Linked DNA regions of Homo sapiens: region 1 is linked to region 2. The links are contacts of gene promoters, found by promoter capture Hi-C in human tissues and cell types (Jung and others, 2019). All regions are on one chromosome and are shown on one strand. Each heading gives the region's core, a stretch centred on a gene start or on the middle of the fragment in contact. The rest is flanking DNA. Distances are from core to core; before and after follow the strand shown.

Evidence for each region. The method cuts DNA at HindIII sites, captures the fragments that hold promoters and counts their contacts. A contact is called where the count stands out against the background at its distance.
Region 1: a fragment that was not itself captured here is called in contact with the fragment with the promoter of HEPHL1 in region 2 in 3 of the 25 tissues and cell types used here (bladder, liver and neural progenitor cells).

Annotation. Positions count from the first base shown.
Region 1 is chr11:93,979,517-93,983,204 of GRCh38, forward strand. No RefSeq gene overlaps it. Among named protein-coding and RNA genes, the nearest start is that of HEPHL1, 40 kb to the right of the region's middle. The HindIII fragment of the contact is 3,424 bases long and covers 664-3,688 here.
Region 2 is chr11:94,020,018-94,023,633 of GRCh38, forward strand. HEPHL1 (hephaestin like 1) reads left to right here and starts at 1,337. Exons shown (of 20, transcript NM_001098672.2): 1 at 1,337-1,521. The coding sequence starts at 1,352. The HindIII fragment of the contact is 8,979 bases long and covers 1-3,616 here.

The DNA.
Region 1 (3,688 bases), core at 1,126-3,625, 39 kb before region 2:
GAAAAAATTGAGGGCCAAGTAATTTGGGATCTGGAAAAAAGGGAGGCAGAGCTGATATTATGGGAAATATTTGTAGAAGAGCTGGATTTAGATACATTCCTTGAAAAAGGTGGAAGGTGCAGAGAAGAAAAATGATGGAATTTGAGGAAACTCTGTTGGGGAAAGGAACAGAAGTATAGAACACTAATATGGAACTGACAAAACATCTGTTTGGCTAGAACATAGGCAGCATGGTAGGAAATATATATGAGATTACAGAGGTGTGGGCTGTGCAGAGGTGTGGCCTGCATAGTTGGAGAGTCTTGATTACAAACTGAGAAGCTTAGATGGGTTACAACAGGTAACTGGGAGGCACTAAGTGGAAAACTGCCACGTGAAAAATAGAGGTTAAGAAGGATCTTCCTGGCACAGAAAGAAAAAAGAGCAAAACTTGGGAATACTGGAGTTTGGAGACCAATTTGGAAGTTGTGATCATTTTAGAGCAGTGCTGTCCAATAGAAATATAATGCAGGCCACATGTATAATTATAGATTTTCTTATAATAAAAGTTGAAATAGTCAAAGAGAAAAAATGAAGTTCATTTAAATAACATATTTGTTATCATATCCCAGTTTTATCCCAATGATTAAAAATAAAAGTTAAACATGTAATCAATATACAAATTATTAATAAAATATTTAACATGATTTCATAGGAAGTCTTTGAATTCCAGTGTGTATTTATACTTACAACACATCTCAACTTGGATTTTAAATTTTTGATGGAAATGCTTGATATGTGTTTAGATAAAATTTATAAAATTTACAGTTGAAAAAGCAGATTCACATACTTAGGTTGTATCAAACATACCGGAACATTTCCCAATAATTGAATTGAGTATCAGTTATTAAATTTAAATTAATTAGAGACAAAAATTCAGTTTCTCCATTATACTAGCCATATTTTAAGAGCTCATCTAGCCTCATGTGGCCAGTGGTCACCATACTGAACACTCAGATTTAGAAGCTTGTTTTGGGGTGTTAGCCAGGAATAAGTGCTTAAATGGAGGAAGTTTCCAATCAGAATTATGCCTATCTTGATGCACTCAAGAGCAGAGGGAGTAAATTCAGTCAGAGAGAGAATAAAGACAGTCTTTTGTGTCTTAAAAGGTTATAAGTTTCCTGAAGACACAGACACAGTTCTGCTCACAGTGTTTTAATCTTTACCGAGCACAGCACTTGAAATGCTTGTAAGATACTAACTAACCTAAGGAAACCATTTCAACTTAACTCTTGAATTCTTTTCAGCCTTCTCAGAACACACTAGTTTGTTCATATGTGTCTGAATTTACAAATCCATGTTTATCTTCTAGTCATTGTCAGCATCTGATTGCAGAGCAGGTATGAAAGTATATTTGATTTCAGAGTTTCTGCCTGACTCTGAAGGGCCCTAAATTAGAGAACGTTGTGCAGTTTCAGAAAAGCAGGCCAAACGGAGCTTGAGTTGTATGTTCTCTCCTTTTTGCCTCTTCTAGTCCTTCTTACATTACTACCCTGTTTCTTCCTCCTTTGCATTATGATTAATTTCTGCAATAAATGCATAAAATTGTCTCACAGCTTTATAGAAATTGGAGAACTTCTGATCTTATCCTATTATTTCTGCAGAGAGCCTTGACCACTGCTCTATGAGAGGACGACAGTAAGCTCCTGACCCTGCAGAAGGGCCCTCTAACTCCTTTCTCAGTGTATTTGTCAGGGTTCTCTTGAGGGACAGAGCTAATGATCTAGACTGTAAGTTCTGGAAAGTTCTAGTTGTCACCTCTCAGCACTTACCAAGGGGATTTGGACATAGTAAGTTTCTACTCTATTCTGATTGATTTAAGATACAGTGTCCCCTCGGAAATGTTAGCAGTTATTTCCATAACCAGTTTTCTCCTGTAGTCCTAGAATCTCTTCTGCCACTTTGCTGATGGGTCTTTATCCCTTATGTCTTGATTTTTTTTAATGAGTCTCTAACAAGAGGTGTGTAGTTTATATGTTCATAAATCATAATATTTTGGCTCAAATAATTCATTAATTTGTTCATATATTGTCCCTCCCTCCCTTTGACAGTTTTTTAGTATTGGCTTTTTGCTGTGTGCAGAGCTGGGTAGCAGAGAGGCAAAAAGCAGCCCCAGACCTTGGGGAGGTCAGAAATGAGTGTGGATAACAGGCAGAATAAATAACAGCTGTAACACAATGTGGTAGGTGCTATAATAAGGCTCATGTACCAGGTAATGGAATCATAAATCCAAAATCATAGAGCCATCTGTCATTTATTTAACAAGTATTAATATTTAGTAGGTACCTGTTGAATGCCAGGCACTATGCTGGGTGTTGGGAATACGATGGTGAGGCAAGACAGATCTTAAAGAGCTTTCAAGCCTAGCTTATATGTCTTGTAAATTATTTAGGAGGAATTTTTGAGGCTGTCTGTTGCAATTTTCTTATCTGATGAAAAAATTCTTGCTACAATTGCCTTGGCAAGTGCCATTTACGTTAATGTGGTCTGTGACCAGTGATATGAAACTCATGGATTAATTTATGTCTAGTGTTGAACATTTGTAAATGTTGGTTATTCTGCTGTATTTTGAGTGAAACTGAAGTAAAAATTATGTATTTCAGGGCTGAAAAGTGCCTGCTAGAAAACTTCAACTCGTTTTTTTTCATGTGACCAAAAGATGCATTAACATTCACTAAAATATAAGCTTCAGGAGGATGAGATTTTGTCTTTTGTTCATGACTTTACTCACAATACCTACCCTGGACTAGAGTTAGGCACATATTTTAGGATTAGTTTCTGAAATGAACATAGAAAGTTTTTTTTTTTTTAATAGAGACAGGGTCTCATTGTGTTGCCTAGGCTGCCTCTGACTCCTAGGCTAAAGAAATCCTCCCACCCCAGCCTCCCAAAATGCTGGGATTACAGGTGTAAGCTACTGCACCTGGTTGAAGGCTTTTAAAAAAAAATCTAGGCAAATCAGCAGAGAGCCAGACATAGTAGTTTATTATTTCTATTAATAAATAATGAAGCACATGCATGTGTGTGAATGAGTGAATAATGATAATAATAATCATATATTGTGTATAGAGTATGCATTAGGTTCTTTACATAATTTATCTCAATTTCTTCTCACAGTAATATGGGAGTATTTGTTAAGCCCCATTCTACTGGTGGGTCGACTGCTATTTAAATAACTTGCTGAGGCTAACATATTTGTCAAGTATTAAAGCTTAGGCTAAAGCATTCTTTGCACCTTCTTGTGGCTAGTTGTTATTTTTGCCTGTATGCTGGAGATTTTAGGGTGTATGGGCATTCCACAGGTTTGCTTCCATTGGCACAGGAGGGTAACTGGACAAGCACAGACAAAGGTACACTGAGGAAATAGCCAAGCAAAAGTTGAACAATCTTTGTGGCACTATTGAGCCAGGGGTCAATCCAGGGGGCCAATTGTAAGCATGCCGCATATATTATTATAATAAGAATAGTAACACTGCTGTGGTAACAGGCTGGAGAGACAAATTCTTTGTTCACTTTACCATACTTTACCTTCCCCTTGCCCTTTTACATATTGTAGAGAACTACATTTCCCCAAATATCTTGTCGACTGGCTTCTGGGTGTCAAGCCCAGTAGGATGCATTGGCCAAGATATTTCTGCCTCTCCTGATT
Region 2 (3,616 bases), core at 87-2,586:
GCCTGGCCTTTTATTAATTAAGATGAATGCTAATACAAACTGTGCTATGGGACATTTATAGGGTAGCTACCATTTAAAGAAAAAGAATTCTCTTACTTGAGACTGGTGGAAGGCATGGCAGATAGGACTTTGGCAAAGAATAGTGGAAAGAAAGTTGAAGACTGCGGGGAAACACAAGTCTGTGGATACACAGGTTGATACAGTCTCTCTTAGAGGGCATGAATGGGCAGGAAGGACTTTAACACTTACTTAGTACCTACCCTATGCTAGGGGCTGGGGTAAGCACTTTGCAGACATCATCTTTTAAAAAGTTCCTTAAGAATCCCTCAATCCTTCTTCTATAGTCTCCAGCTCAATGATGTTAAGTGATTCCTCCATGCCACTAAATTGGAAAGTGGTGGGAACTCACATTCAAACCCAGGTCTGACCAACTTCAAAGGCCAGGAGGCTGTTTCCTTCATTCCATGGCTGCTCCCTCAAGAGTAACTGTGCATGGGGATAAGAGTAACTCTTTTCCAAGGTTGATCAAGGTCTCTTTCAATACCGAGATTCTGGGACACAGATTAGAAGACACAGAAGAATGGCCCAGCCTTTTCCACCCAAAGACCTGTTACTGAATTTTGTCTCCATGTGTCTGAAGGGTACTTCCCCATCATCATTTTCATTCATCCTAAGAAAGGCGGCTCCCTGTGTGGAGGTGGTGGCCGCGAACATTTTGGCTGAACTGAGCAGTCAACCTTCTCATTTTTGCTGGAAGGATTTGAGAGAATATGGGGGAGATGGTACACGAGCCAGTGGAGGATTAGTGGGGTTTTATGTTGTTGTGATGAACTTTATGATGTTAGTTTGTGGTTTCACATAGCCTCATAAAACAAGCTGGATGGTGATTATGTCACTTCCTCTGCCCTCCCGACAGAGAGGAGGCCTTCTTTAGTGCCTGGAGTGTTTCCTGATGCTCCACTCAGGCCAGCTCACTTTTCAGATTTTAATGTAAGAGGTGTGGAGAAGAAAAGAAGAAGAAGGGGTGGGGGAAAGCCATCGGCTCAAGTAGTCACACTGTCATCCTGGCTGACAAATGACTGATGTCAGAGCATGGTACCGAAACGTATAGAAACAGGCCTGTTGGCTTGGGCAATACATAAATGAGCCAGTCACACATTTCTCGGATGGCTGGCAAAAGTTTTGTTGTCAAAGCAACGCCCCCATCGAGCTTGCTTTGCTTACGCAAGGCCTCAGCCTTTGCCTCTTCCCCAAACCCAAGCTACCTGAGGAGGAGGAGCTGAGTGAGGGGGAGGGACCAACAGATTTGTCCCCTGTGCAGGCTGCCTGCCTGCTTGAGTTACATCCACAAATGCCTCGGAAGCAGCCAGCTGGCTGCATCTTTCTCCTCACATTCCTGGGTCTGTCTGGGCTGGTTGGCACAGTTACCAGAACGTACTACATTGGGATTGTGGAAGAATACTGGAACTATGTACCCCAAGGGAAGAATGTTATTACTGGGAAAAGTTTCACAGAAGACAAGTGAGTGAACTTAGGGTCCTCATTGACTCCCAGGTTTGGCCTCTTTTTGACTTTGTGTGGGGAAGGTTGTATTTCTTGGGTACTTACAATGGGGGTGAGTTGATCTAGACCAAGAGAAGGTGTTTTGTTTTTTGCTTGAAGAGCCCTAGTATGGATGGGTGTGTAATCTGGAAGAGATATTCATAGCTCCATGTATTTGTTGAGCCACCTATTAATAGCCTTGCCTGTGAAGGGACATATACACAACCAGGTGTTTGACAATTTCCACCAGGTACTACTAGTAACTTCTGGGGGATTCTGTTTGTTTGTTTGTTTTTAAATGACAACACTTGGGATGAAGATTTGAGAAATTTCAAGAATTCCTTATGGTTAAAACACAGTGTTTTCTTAGTTTGTATTTCTGGAATGAAACATCATAATGGGAGATAAGTATGCTAAGTCATGTTTTTCAACGTTTAAAAGAGGGGGAAGTCACAGGAGATTTGCCTGCTATTTTCAGGGTTTCCTTGAGTCTACTTAGAATTAGCGCTTTCACTGGTAAAAAGTTTATTCCAGCTCCAAGTCATTCTTGCTGAGGGCAATATCTTATCCCAGAACCTATAGCATAGCTAGGTGAGATGGCGCCACGGTGTTCTATGTTCCTGATTTTTAATTTGGGGCAGAAAATAACCCTTTCTCCCTGCCCCCTCCAGGGCCTAGTATCTTAACCATCTAATTTGTTTCATGGATCTCCCTCTGAAGTCACCTCCTGACTCCAGAAGATGTCATGCTATTTTCAACTTTGTGGTTATTAGAACATCTTTTCAGATGTTTTGGCAACCTCTGTTGGATATTTGAATGCTTGCTTCTTTTCTGACAGGCAGAACCAGTTGCATTCTGCATCCATGTTCCATTTCCTAAAGATGAGTTTAGTTGATAAAATTCAGGAACAGCACAGGGCCTACCAGCAAGTCTTTAAGAGCCAGGGCCCCTTGTCTTTGAGGAAAGACCAAAGATCCAGTTGGCTTGGAAATACAGCTTCCAAGTTTTCTAACAAAACAAAGGTGGTATAGTCATGTTTTGTTTACCAAAGATGAAGCCTGTGCCAGACAAGCTGCCAAGGCAGACTTTTCCTTAAGCTTTGTACCTGGAAATGTAATGTCTGCAGGGCTATTTCCAAAGGAAACTCTTGATTGCTTTCAATCCCACATCTGCTGACCATTGGTGGTAGTGTCTTTACTGTGATGAATAGCTATGGGATTGAAAGGGTACCAAAAATGCCAGGAGCCTTCTCTACAAATAGAGCTCTGCTATTCTCAGAGAGGGCTCAGTAGGAAACAGTCAATGTGAGCAGCTACTGGGGATAAGAATGTTGAAAGTGTGTACACTGAGTGTAATGAATATAGCGTTTAAGCTAAATGTGATACTGGATTGCCTTTCCATAAGATTAACACCCACAGAAATTCTTCTTCCTAAAATGCCCACGTCACTATAGCTGTGTATGGGCATTTATTCTGACCCAAAAATTCTATGAGGGATTTTTCAATTCATTACTGCTTGCAGATATTATTATTCTCATTTTATGAACCAGGAACCAAGGCTCTGAGGTTAAATACTTGCCGGAGTTTATAAGTAAGTGGTAGCACCAAACTCATTGCTTTGGTTCCACAGCCCATATTTCTTTTCACCACACAATCTGTTTCTTGGTAAAGGTGATCCTTCTCCAGTGAATTAAAACAACTTTGAGGGAAGCCAAGGATCACAGTAATAAGAACTTTCTAGAAAGTCCTAATTTTTGCCAAAGGCATGTTTAGTCTCTTTTGTCACTCTTCCTAGAAGCATATTGAAAGGGATCACTGGTGGTCAGTGACCAAACAAGTTATCTGGGTTAATTCAAAACCTCAAAGAATCATAAATACTCAAGTACTACAATGCTGTTTTCACAAAGTGGGGTGCTGGAAGAAGTTGGGGTCTCTGTTGATCATTTCAACCAGAAGATGGTGCTTTGATGAAAGTACAATAAAACATATAAAAATTGCTATGGTGAAAAAGAAAATAGGCATGATGAAAACAGTTGGTTTGGCATCAGATTTGAGTGAGATGGTTTCAAAATGCA